Linked DNA regions of Homo sapiens: region 2 is linked to region 1. The links are contacts of gene promoters, found by promoter capture Hi-C in human tissues and cell types (Jung and others, 2019). All regions are on one chromosome and are shown on one strand. Each heading gives the region's core, a stretch centred on a gene start or on the middle of the fragment in contact. The rest is flanking DNA. Distances are from core to core; before and after follow the strand shown. Region 1 holds the start of PICK1 (protein interacting with PRKCA 1). Region 2 holds the start of CBX6 (chromobox 6).

Region 1 (6,547 bases), core at 1,558-4,057:
AAAGTAAGTTGAGAAAAAGGCCAGGTGCAGTGGCTCACAACTGTAATCCTAGCACTTTGGGAGGCTGAGGTGGGTGGATCATCTGAGGTCAGGAGTTCGAGACCAGCTTGATCAACATGGTGAAACCCCGTCTCTACTAAAAATACAAAAAATTAGCCGGGCATGGTGGTGGGCGCCTGTAATCCCAGCTACTCAGGAGGCTGGGGCAGGAGAATCGCCTGAACCCGGGAGGCAGAAGTTGCAGTGAGCTGAGATCGCACCACTTAACTCCAGCCTGGGCGACAAGAGGGAGACTCCATCTCAAAGAAAAAAAAAAAGAAAGAAAGAAAAGAAAAGAAAAGAAAAAAATTGCAAAAATTAGCCAGGCGTAGCTATGAGCTGTAAGCCCCAAATTTAAAGGGGATAAAAACCTTGCCAGACAAAATACAAGCATGTAATAAATTAATCACTGCAGAATTGGCTCAGGAAAACCATGAAGAGATTTCACAAGGCAAATACACAGCAAATTGCTGAACAAATGATTCAAATAGCAACTGCTCAGGAGCTCAGCTCAGAAAAGGGAGCAAGATATATGAGCTGAGATTGTCTGCTAAGGCTGCCGGGAAGAGGTGAATTAGAGCGGAGCCTGCAGGCAAGGGATGAACAAGGCAGAAAACAGGGGCATCTTCCCCAACCTGAGAAGAAGGGCCAGAGTGGGTAGGGGGTTTTGAGGTCAGAGTGACAGCTGTGCCATGCAAATTGTTTACAAAGCACTCACACCTGTTTCTCCTTTTAATCTTTTGTTTCTGAGATGGAGTCTGGCTCTGTCACCCAGGCTGGCATGCAATGGCGCGATCTCGGTTCACTGCAATCTCCGCCACCCGGGTCCAAGCGATTCTCCTGCCTCAGTCTCCTGAGTAGCTGGGATTACAGGTGCATACCACCATGCCTGGCTAATTTTTGCATTTTTAGTAGAGACGGGGTTTCACCATGTTGGCCAGGCTGGTCCAGATATATGATCTAGATCTTATACCAACTCCTGATCTCATGATCCACACTCCTCAGCCTCCCAAAGTGCTGGGATTACAGGCGTGAGCCACCGCGCCCAGCCTCTCCTTTTAATCTTGACTTTCACAAATACCTGGTGGCAGGTGTCATTTCCCCATTCTACACGTACCTGAGGCTCAGAGTGAGACAGCGACTCACCCAAGATCTCCCAGCTACAAAATGGCAGAGCCTGGGCCTGAGCTAGCATGGTCATGGGCTGGAAGAGCCACAATCCATGTTAAGGCACCTGGGTTTGGAGACTGCTGCCTTTTTTTTTTTTGAAACGGAGTCTCTCTCTGTCGCCCAGGCTGGAGTGCAATGGCCTGATCTCGGCTCACTACAACCTCCCTCTCCTATTTTCAAGCGATTCTCCTGCCTCAGGCTCCCAAATAGCTGGAATTACAGGTGTGCGCCACCGCACCTGGCCTTAGACTGCTGCTTTTTGAAACCAAAATTCTGGCCTGGAAACAGAGCTTGGTTTTCCCAGCCCCAGCCCTGCCGCTATGATACCAGAGGAAGAGGCTTCCCAGGGCCTCCGTTTCCTTGCCTGCACAATGTGGCTGGCAAGATTTGGTCTTCTCTCACAGGGTGGTGGTGAGCTTTCAAATCCTGTGAAAGTGATCTCACAGGAGAGCAGTGGACACGTGGGAAGGCTGTTATTGTCACGGCATTCTGCACATCTGTCCGGACTCAATTAGCCACCTAAGGAGAGAGTAGGGCGGGGCTTCCACCGGCCGTGGGATATGTGGATAATCATCCTTCTGTATCTTTCTTCCATGGCTCCTGGGGCAGCTGGGGAAGCAAGCTGGATGGGCCTGGCCCCATGCTGCCGGATGAGGTGGATGCCTGGCTGTGGCTCTGGGAGAGCCAACCTCCCCCAGGGAACCCACTTTACACAATAGCAGTGGCAGCAGAGGCTGGCGAGGAGACAAGATTCGGACTCTGGGGAGCACTGATAGCATTTCCCGAGCCTCAGGTACATGCGGACCGTGACCCTCCCTGGGACCCCAGGGGGGCTGCTCCTCAGGACTAAGGAAGGAGGAGGGGGTGTGAGAAACCTTTCACCATATACCATAGAAAGCATTTACCTCAATGGCCTTGGTTTACATATGGGGAAACTGAGGCACATAAAGGGAAGGGAGCATGTCCAGTCTGTCCTTAATAGCAAGACCCACTGAATACACCTCTCCTGGCTCTCTGTTTAGTGTTTGGACGTTCAAAGATCCCTAGACTAGGCGGCGGGAGTTTCAGGGCCACGATCCAGATCTTACACCAACTGTGTGTGGCCCCGCACAAAATCACTCCCCGCTCTTTGGCACTTAAGTTGGCGAAACTGGGATGGGCTGGGACCTCAAAGGGCCATTCTAGTAGGGGAGTCACAGGCCCAGGTGGTGAAGGGGTGAAAGGGCATGATGTCTTGGGGTTTATAGTCCACTGAGCCTCGCCGGAGGTAACCCCGGCTCAGGGATGCTTTCGTTGCCATGGCAACCGCCGGGCCGGCGCGGGCCCCTGAGTGCAGCTGAGGAAGCTGGGACAAACCCTGCCCTTCCCAAGATGGCGGCGGCGGCAGGGCAAAGGGCGGGGTTAGACGCTGTCAGCCTGTCCAGACCGTTCCTCTGTTTTCGCTTGTTCCTACTAACAGCGAGCTTCCGCCAATACTTGTTCTCGTTCTTGGTTCCGAGCGTCCCGGGAGCCGGGAAGGGAAGGATTGTCTGCAGGGATTGGAGCAAATATCCAGTGGGGGGAAAGCCGGGACTTCCGCGTCTTGCCGGAAGTGACGTGACAATCGCGGCCACCGCCAGGTGGAACGGCAGGTGGGTTCAGGTACCAGCCTGGCCGGGACCCGGCTGTGGGACCAACGCTTCCGGTGAGCGACAGAGGCAGCTCCCCAGGGCCTGGAGACCCGTGGGGCGGACTCTGGGATCTGAGCCTATCGCCCTGGCCTGGAGCCCCCCTTTGTACCTAGTAAGAATCACCTACCCAGCCCCCCACCCGGAGACTGTCCCATCCCACTCCAGAGGGAAGAGGAGGGCACTGCTGTCCCGTATGAGGTGGTGGAGGGAGGGGTGGCGTTGGCATTTAGGCACTTGGGTTCCTTAAATCCTATGCTCCTTTCTCTCCCGGATCCAGTTCCCCATTCCCCTACCGAGCTGGGCAGTTAGCCAGCCCACTCCAACTCTCGGAACCATGTTTGCAGACTTGGATTATGACATCGAAGAGGATAAACTGTGAGTATTTTATTCCCCCAAGTTCCAGCAGTATAGGAGCCCCAAGTTCCTCATTTCCCTGGACTTCCCAGTCCCACAGACCCTTGCTTCTCAGCGGTGGATCAGTTGTTGTACTGAAGCAGCAATGGACCCTGCTCTCCCAGGAGCTCACTATTTGTAGGGGGCTGTGGACAGTTAAAGGGATAATCACAGCTCAGTGCCATAAGGGCACTATTAGCATGACTTGGTGACAAGAAGAGCAAAGCAGATGGAGCAGTGCTTCTGCTGGGATGGTCAAGGAAAGCTTCATGGAGGACGTAGCAATTGAACCAGGTTTTGAAGGTTGAATAGGAATATTGTAGACACCCTTCCTTCCCAACATAGGTTGTTAGTAGGACAGATTTTCCCATTAGAATATATCCTCTTTCAGATCAAGGAGTGGGTGCAATGCCTTTCTCTATGCTCAGCACTTAGTAAGGGACTTGACGTCAGTAGGTTGTTAGCGAATGTTTTTTGAATGAATAAGTGAATCAGCGTGAGTACTTATCATAAAACACCAGTCAATGCTAATTTATAGTGGAAACCGAGAGGTAATCGAGCAGTTGAGAGGTGGGAGGTGGACAGTTTAATAGAGGAAGACTCCCTGGAGTAGGTGGCCATCATACTACATAGATGCCTGATAAGGTGACAAGGACAGAACCTGGCTCAAATCTCAGAGATCGAATAAATGAAAGGGAAGGGGGACCTATTTTTATGGAGTGCCTGCTATGGACTGGGTTGCTGTTAGTGCCCTCCATGCATGGTTAGAAGAACTCTGATAAGGGTGCTCATCCACATTTTATGGATGAGGAAATTGAGATGCACAGAGGCTGACTTACCCAAGTCCCATAGCTGGCCAGGCACGGTGGCTCACGCCTGTAATCCCAGCACTTTGGGAGGCTGAGGCAGGCGGATCAACTGAGGTCAGGAGTTCAAGACCAGCCTGGCCAACATGGTGAAACCCCGTCTCTACTAAAAATACAAAAAAATCAGCCAGGCGTGGTGGCAGGCACCTGTAGTCCCAGCTACTTGGGCGACTGAGGCAGGAGAATCACTTGAACCCGGGAGGCGGAGGTTGCAGTGAGCCGAGATTGCGCCATTGCACTCTAGCCTGGGCAACAAGAGTAAGACTCCATCTCAAAAAAAAACCAAGTTCCACAGCTGATAAATGGCAGAGCTGGGGTTTGATCCCACATCTGCTTAACTCCAAGAGCTGTGCATGTTCCAGCACAAAATGTTGTTTTGTCCAAGGGAGGGAGAGAAAAAGCTGGGCAGCCAGTGGAGCCCCTCAGGAGTTTTAGAGGGCCCACCCGCTCCAGTCATCCTTCTGCCAGGAGAGTCAGCCTAGCTTGCTTTCCTTTCTAGCGGAATCCCGACTGTGCCTGGGAAGGTGACCCTGCAGAAGGATGCTCAGAACCTGATCGGGATCAGCATTGGAGGAGGGGCCCAGTACTGTCCCTGCCTCTATATCGTCCAGGTATTGGGCGCTTTGGAGGGGGGCACAAGGTACATCCCTACTTGGGCATGACAAAGGCAGGTTCATTTCTCCACACTGCATAGCTGACTCCTTCTCATTCTTGAGGTCTGACCCTCTCAGAGGGGCTTTCTGACCACCTGCGCTGCGTTGCTCTGCCCTGTCTTCTCCCCTGTGTCGCTCTGTTTTTTTCCTTCTCGGCACTTATTACTTGTTATTTGCCCTCTGTCTAGTAGAGTAGACTCTTTGCACTGAGGGCAGTGTCCTGGTTTGCTTTTTCACTGCAGTAAGCACCAGGTACAGTGCCTGGCACATAGTGGACATGCAATAGAAATTGACTATTGAATCAACAAAACCATCAGCCTTGCGTACTAGCCAAAATGAAGTGTCATAGGAACACGATGAAATAATGGCCTGAGTTCAAATGCAAGCTTCTTTCCTACTTACTAGCAAGTTACTTAACCTCTTTGGGCCTCAGTTTCATCACCTAGAAAGCGGGGATTTAAAACATGTAGACACAATCATCTCTGGGTTCTTGTGAGAAGTCAACAAAACGACCTAACACACTAGAAGTTAAGAAACGTGCATTGGCCAGGCATAGTGGCTCACACCTGTAATCCCAGCACTTTGGGAGGCCGAGGTGGGTGGATCACGAGGTCAGGAGTTCGAGACCAGCCTGGCCAACATGGTGAAACCCCGTCTCTACTAAAATACAAAAATTAGCTGGGCGTGGTGGTGCACGCCTGTACTTCCAGCTACTTGGGAGGCTGAAGTAGGAGAATCGCTTGAACCTGGAAAGTAGAGGTTGCAGTGAGCTGAGATCACGCCACTGCATTCCGTGCATTCCAGCCTGGGTGACCGAGTGAGACCCTGTTTCAAAAAAAAGAAAGAACCATGCATTAAGCAGTAGCTGCTGCTATTTTCCAGGTAGCTGTACATTTTCCCAGATGCTCTGCCAGTGGTGAGGAACACTCTTGTGTCTCTTGCAGAGGAAGCTGCACTGGTGATATTCTGTCCACTGTAACTCAGGAGTGGTGACAGGCCTGCTGTGGGGCCTCCTTCACTGTGTGGCTCATCCAAGTCAGTGACCTTGCTGTAGCCTTGGGAATACCTGTTCTAACCCTCTCACTGGTGGCAGATGGGAAACTGGCCTCTGTGAGGATCTTGCTCAGGAGTCGCTTGTAGGCCTCGAAGACAGATTCCCAGGATCGACCTGGTCTTGCTTCTGCTCACAGTGCTGCCTCCTTCATGAGCCATTCGGCCTCCTGTGACCCAGGAGGCATTAGCAAGACCTCCCCCAGGCCTGGCCTCCTGGCCGTGTGTCTGCTCAGCCTCTCGCCACCTCCCTCTACCTACCTCAGGTGCAAGTTTGCTTAGAATGAACAGACATCATAAAATAGTATAATTGATTTTTTTTTTTTTTTGAGACAGAGTCTCACTGTGTTGCCCAGGCTGGAGTGCAGTGGCGTGATCTCAGCTCACTGCAACCTCTGCCTCCTGGATTCAAACGATTCTCATGCCTCAGCCTCCCGAGTAGCTGGTATTACAGGTGTGCGCCATCATGCCCAGCTAATTTTCGTATTTGTAGGAGAGAGAGGTTTTAGCTATGTTGGCCGGCCTGGTCTCGAACTCCTGGCCTCAAGCGATCCACCCACCTCAGCCTCCCAAAGTGCTAGGATTACAGGCATGAACCACCAGCCAATAAAATAATAGAACTGGCCGGGTGCGGTGGCTCACACCTGTAATCCCAGCACTTTGGGAGGCTGAGGTGGGCAGATCACCTGAGGTGAAAACTTCCAGA
Region 2 (6,547 bases), core at 16-2,515, 810 kb after region 1:
AAGTAAAATGATTTGAGGTCAAATTCAAGTTGGATCCCCAAGAAAGGAGGGGAGCCATGAAGAACAAATCCTGAAAGACTGAACGGGGGAAGCTGGGGGCAGGGAGGCAGGTGGTCCCCCAAATCCTCTCCTTGTGCCCTGCCAGGAGGTGGGACCCCACTCACTCTCCCCCTGGGTTCCAACTCCCAGCACAGTCATAACAGCTCAAACAAATGCCCCCTTCCCATGGGCATCCCCCACCTGCCTCAGCCACCCCCTTTCCTGGAGCCCTAAAGGCATCCCCAGCCCCTGGTTTCAACAGGGAGGATTATCCCCAGTCCCAAAACCCTCTTGTTGAAGCTGATGCTGGCTGAGGCCTGCCATCAGGGGCTTCTGGGGGGGCTCACAACCACCCCCTGCCCAGCTGGGGCCCCTCTGAAAAGGCCGGCCCGCTTGGGCGGCCGCGTATCTGTCCCTCCCTTCCAGGCCCCGTGCTGTGCCGGGGCTGGGGGCCCGAGAGGGGGATGCTGCTGGGGCTGGGCCAGGTTACCTTCAGGAGGAAAGTTTTGGGTTTGGGTCCCCTCTTCTTGGGCCCATACAGCTCACGCTCCCTCTCCCTGCGGCCGAAAAACACCAGAGGTTAAAAAGAGCCCCTTCCCGGGCCCCACTCCGCGCTGCCCTCCCCGGCTCTCCCGCTTCCCCGCGCGGCGCCCCAGCCGAGCCTCGGCCTCGCAGCCCCTGCCAGCTTCCCCAACAACTCACTTTTGTTCGAAGGCTGCAATGAGCCGCGAGTCCAGGATGTTCTCCTCGGGCTCCCAAGTGCTGTACCTGCCGAGTCACAAACGCACAAAATCAGGATGAAGACCAGAGAGGGACAGGCACGCGGCGAGAGCAAGAGCGCGCACCCCCACCCCAGGCCCCGGTGCCCGCTGCCTCCCCTCCCGCGACGCCCCCGGACCCCGCGACACTCACTTGATCGCCCACCCCTTCCATTTCACCAGGTACTCGATGCGTCCCTGAAAAACAGAGGGGAGAAAAACGGGGGTGGGGGTGGGGAGGATGCGGGGACGCGAGGAGGCGGCGGCGCGGGGCTGGGCGAGGGAGCCGGGCTAGCGGGACCGCTTCGCCCCGAGGGCCCCCGGCCCCGGCCCCGGCTGCGGACAGCGGCGGCCCGCCCCGGGCGGCGGCTCACCTTTCGGATCCGCCGTTTGATGATGGATTCGGCCGCGAAGACCCGCTCGCCCACTGCAGACAGCTCCATCTTGCTCAGCGGCACCCACAGCCCATAATACTCCCTGCGCCCGCGGCCGGTGCGGCACCGCTCGCGCACGCGCCGCAGCGCCCAGGCCCCGGCGGGCGGGAGCGCGGCGGGGCGCGCGCTCGCGTTCCAGCTGCGGGCCGTCACGTGATCCTCGCGGCTGGCGCGCGGTTGCCAGGACCTCCCCCTCCCCCGGGGCGGTTGCTAGGGAAAGTCGGCGCTCGCGGGGCGGGGGCGCGCGCTGGCTCTTAAAGGGGCCGCGCGGGCGGAGGGAGCAATTGCCGGCCGACCCGATGGGTGCCCGGCTTGTGGGCACGCTGCGGCCTTACGCTTATCACCCCCCCTCACATCTTGCCGGCGCCCGATCGCTGACACCCTCTCCTTGCCTCTTAATCCCCACGCGAGTCTCGCCAGGCCCCGGGCGGAGAAGGGCTGTGGAGCCCGAGTCTCGCCGCCACCGCGCATCTCCCGCAGCAGCCTGCAAACAGTTAAATATGATGCAGCAGAAATGCAGTTGCTGTTGCCTTGCCAGGCCTTGCGGGAATTTCTTTAAAACATCGCCCCCCACCCATTATTTATGTATTCGTGGGAGGGTGGTTTTGTAACCAGTTCAGAAGAGTTAAAACAAAAACGCCACCGCAGGAAGGGGGTGTGCGGCGAATGGGGCCGAGGAAGGCCGGAGTGACCGTGGGCATCTGTCTGCGGCCGGGGTCTCGGGCGGCACCTGTCCTCGCCCAGGAGACCGGGGAGGATTCGGCGGGGCCGGTGTGGCAGTGGGGGAGGGAGAGGGACCGCGGGCAGGAACGGGCTCCCCGCACTCCGCCTTGGGCCCACAGCGGGTCATCATCTGGTCATTCGGCAGAAACCGCCTTCGCGGTCATATCTGTGTTTTCCGATTCCCAGCACCCCTCCCGGCCCCCCGACCTGGCCGCGTCCCTCTCCCCGCCCGCAGCTGCGCGAAGCTTCCGCCATTGCTCTGGGGAGCCCAGATCCCAGCTTCCCACTTGAGGAGGGGCGGGGGATCGAGCTGGGGCTGTCCAGGAACGGACACACAAAAAATAGCCCTGCCGCGCAAAACGCTCCACTTTTTAAATGTTGAAATTACTTGAACTTTATTTCCCATTATGTTAGTAGTCTTGTTCTTTGTAAAACAATTTTAAAAATACAGATAAAACAACTGTCCATAACCCCCATAAAACCATTGTTAACATCTTCACCAATCTTCCAGCCTCTGCTCTATGCGTACATAAACTCACGTACACCTATGTATGTATGTATATACATACACATACACATTGTCTGTAGATTTAATTTTTTAACAAAATGGGATCACGCTATTCACACTGTTCTGGAATCTGCTTTTCTCCCTTAATGCTATAAAGTGGACATCTTTCAGTGTCATTAAATACAGATTTCACCATCCTTCCAGTGACCACCTTGGGGCTGAGATGGGGTGGGGAGGAATGGGGATTGTGAAGAGTCAGGGTTGTGTCTTGCGAACATCAATGGCTCATTAGGAAAGATTTTTGCGTTTCTGTGCTACAATGCCAATTCTTGGGTTTCAAATCCACCATAGCAAAATGTTAGTCTTTTTCTCCCAGCAGATTTGTCCAATTATTACCTTGAGAGAAATCCCTCTCCTCACTTAAAATCAGTATGTTCCAGGGAAACAGCTATTTGCTGGCCAGCCCAAGGTGAGCTGCTGTGGTAAAAATAGAAATGTCCTCCTGGGAGATGTGGGTGGTGGTGGGTGAGCAGGTGAGAGGAGTGGGTATGACAGTGTGTGTGTGTTCAGGCTGACGGAGACAGGCGGGGGATGAAGCAGGTGAGTCCACTTGTTGATTCATTCAGCAGTGTTTGTGAGCCCTTGTGAAGCACCAGGCTTTGTGTGAAACCATCAGGAAACAAAGGTGCCCCAGGCTGAGGAGCTGTCAGTGGAGTGAGAACGGCACCTGTCACACAGTGTGACTAATGCTAGAATAAAGGTGTAGGAGTTTCGTGTTGCTGCTCTCACAAATTAACACAAGCTCAGTGGCTTAAAATGACTCACATTTGTTATCTGATGACTCTGGAGGCGGGAAGTCCCAAATCAGTGTTACTGGGCCCAAGTGAAGGTATCCTCAGGGCTGGTCCCTTTTTGGAGGGTCAAGGAGAGTATCTGTTCCGTGCCTCATCCAGCTTCCAAATGTTGCTGGCATTTCTTGGCTCATGGCTTCATCACTCAAATCTCTGTTTCCACGATCCCTTTGCTCACTTCCTGCTTCTTTCTTTCTTTTGTTTTTGTTTTTGAGATGGAGTCTTGCTCAGTCACCCAGGTGGGAGTGCAGTGGCACAATCTCGGCTCACTGCAACCTCTGCCTCCCGGTTTCAAACAATTCTCCCAGTCTCAGCCTCCCAAGTAGCTGGGATTACAGGCATGCGTCACCACACCCGGCTAATTTTTGTATTTAGTAGAGATGGGGGTTTCACCATGTTAGCCAGGCTGGTCTCGAACTCCTGACCTCAAGTAATCCACCCGCCTCAGCCTCCCAAAGTACTGGGATTACAGGCGTGAGCCACCGCACCTGGCTTCTGCCTCTTTCTTTTAACAACACTTGTGATTACATTGGGTCTGCCCAAATAATTGAGAATGATCTTTCCGTCTCAACCTCAACTTAATCAGATTTGCAAAGACCCTCTTACCATAGGGTAACATGGATGGTAAGTAAGGTATCCTATCCACAGGTTCTGGGGGCTAGGGGCTAGGACACGGACATCTTTCGGGGAGGCATTATAAGCCTGCCACAAGAGTCTGTACAGGATGTCTTGGGAGTGGACATAGGGGAGCAACCTACCACGTGGAGGTGAGGCTGTGAGGGCTTCTCAGAGGTGGAGACCTCTGATTTGGGGCCGGAAAGACAAATGGGAATTGGCCTACAAGTGAAGAATGGGAAGGGTGTCCCGGGTGGAGGTGTCAACTTGAACAAGCACATCAGAGCCTGAGAGTGTGTTTTGGGGATGGGAAAGAAGTCTGCTATGGCATGGGTTGGGGCAGTACGGCAAAGGATGGCAATGGAAAGATGGGTTGGACTGAACTTGGGAAGGGCCTTGAATGCTGGGTAGGTTTGGACTTTGTCTCAGGCAGTGGGAAGCGTGAGGGAGTTTTGAGTAGAGGAGGGATGTGATGAGATGAAGTGGGAATTCGGGCAGCCAGGCTTGGATCCCTTTTCTTTTGGTAATCGTGTGATGTTGTACAAGTCCTTTTCTACTCTCTGGATCTTAGTTTTTCAACTTCAAAAATGGGGGAGGAACTGGCCCTTTTTCATGCTCTATATTTTTTGGCAGGTGACTTTTTTTTTTTTTTTTTTTGAGGTGGAGTCTCCCTTTGTTGCCCAGGCTGGAGTGCAGTGGCGTGATCTTGGCTCACTACAACCTCCGCCTCCCAGGTTCAAGTGATTCTCCTGCCTTGGCCTCCTGAGTAGCTGGGACTATAGGCGCGCCACCTTGCCAGGCTAATTTTTGTATTTTTAGTAGAGACGGGGTTTCACTATGTTGGCCAGGCTGGTCTCAAACTCCTGACCTCGTGATCCGCCCGCCTTGGCCTCTCAAAGTGCTGGGATTACAGGCGTGAGCCACTGCGACAAGCTGCAGGTGACTCTTTTGAAAATCTGTTATTTCCAAGTCATTCCAAAATTTTGGAGAGATTTATGGACTTCTCACATGCTTTTCCCTTGTTTATGAGCACCTGGAGAAGATAGTCTCTATTCTATGAGAAAAAAATCCCCTCCACCTCTGACAGTCTATAGTTCTGAGGTTTGGTGTAACATCACAAAGGAAAAAAATTGATCTCTTAGCCTGTGTGAGTTGTTGCCCAGACAGAGGGCAAATCAGTTTCCTATGAAATTGTGAACCAAAACTATCTGAGACAAGTCTCAATCAATGTAGAAAGTTTATTTTGCCAAGGTTAAGGACGTGCCCGTGACATAGCCTCAGGAGGTCCTGATGACTTGTACCCAAAGTGATAGGGGTATAGCTTGGTTTTATACATTTTAGGGAGATATGAGACATCAATCAGTACATTTAAGATGTACATTGGTTCAGTCTGGAAAGGTGGGGCAACTCGAAGTGGGGGCTTCCAGGTGGTAGGTAGATAAGAGACAAAAGGTTGTATTATTTTGATTCTGATCAGCCTTTCACTGAGTACACAATTTACATGTGAGGAGGGTAGAGGAAGAGTCACTTATGCCTCAGTCTGTCTCAGTGAATCTGCATTTTTACATAAGCAACAGGCGGAGGAAGCAATCAGATATGCATTTGTCTCGGGTGGGAAGAGGGATGACTTTGAGTTCTGTCCTTGTCCCGCATCTGTTAAGATAAACTATCAATTTACATTGCCAAGGTGAAATTCAACAGAACTGTTTTAGGGTAAAGATGCTGAGGCCCACATGGAAATTCCTTGGGGGCAAACTCTGAAGGAGATATGTAGTTTTTTAATCTTTGTAACTATCTTATTTGGGGAAAAAATGGGAGCCAAGTTTGCCTGATGCAGTCCCCAGCTTGACTTAGTGATTTTTTGGGTTCAAATTTCAACCCCAAAAAAGGCAACAACTGTCTTTCTTTTTTTTTTCTTTTCTTTTTTTGAAATGGAGTCTCGCTCTGTCGCCCCGGCTGGAGTGCAGTGGCGCGATCTCGGCTCACTGCAAGCTCTGTCTCCTGGGTTCATGCCATTCTCCTGCCTCAGCCTCCCGAGTAGCTGGGACTACAGGTGCCCACCACCACACTCGGCTAATTTTTTGTATTTTTAGTAGAGACGGGGTTTCACTGTGTTAGCCAGGATGGTCTCGATCTTCTGACCTCGTGATCTGCCCGCCTCGGCCTCCCAAAGTGCTGGGATTACAGATGTGAGCCACCGCACCCGGCCAACAACTTTCTTTTTGGCTTAGTGATTTGGGGGTCCTGAGACTTACCTTCCTTTCACCAAAAAAACCTGTAGTACAGCAAACAAAAATTTAGTAGCTTAAAACACAAGAATCTATTATCTCTCATGATTCTGTGTTTGACGGGCACTTTGGATGGTTCTCTTTCCTGCTCTTGTATAGGGTAACTGGTGTGGCCACGGTCAGAGACAAGGCCAAGGCTTGATGTGTACATCTGGAGTCATAGTACTGGATGCTGGCTGGGCCTCTCTCTCCTCGTGGTCTCTCATCATTCATAGTCTACTTCAAGCTTGCTTATGTGGTTCCAGGAGTCACACAAGAAGGTGAGAGACACACAAAGCTTCTTAAGGTCTTGCCTTGGAACTTACACAACATTGCTCCCTCTGCATTCTGT

The links. The method cuts DNA at HindIII sites, captures the fragments that hold promoters and counts their contacts. A contact is called where the count stands out against the background at its distance.
Region 2: the fragment with the promoter of CBX6 here is called in contact with the fragment with the promoter of PICK1 in region 1 in 2 of the 25 tissues and cell types used here (hippocampus and lymphoblastoid cells).

Annotation. Positions count from the first base shown.
Region 1 is chr22:38,054,597-38,061,143 of GRCh38, forward strand. PICK1 (protein interacting with PRKCA 1) reads left to right here and starts at 2,808. Exons shown (of 13, transcript NM_012407.4): 1 at 2,808-2,991; 2 at 3,157-3,254; 3 at 4,638-4,749. The coding sequence starts at 3,214. RefSeq lists enhancers at 2,260-2,885, 2,582-2,641, 2,886-3,509. The HindIII fragment of the contact is 14,484 bases long and covers 1-4,357 here.
Region 2 is chr22:38,870,951-38,877,497 of GRCh38, forward strand. CBX6 (chromobox 6) reads right to left here and starts at 1,266. Exons shown (of 5, transcript NM_014292.5): 1 at 1,172-1,266; 2 at 952-995; 3 at 742-807; 4 at 530-596. The coding sequence starts at 1,240. RefSeq lists silencers at 888-937, 1,038-1,187, 1,218-1,477 and enhancers at 1,472-2,022, 2,023-2,572, 2,409-3,608, 3,425-3,604. The HindIII fragment of the contact is 23,948 bases long and covers 1-4,320 here.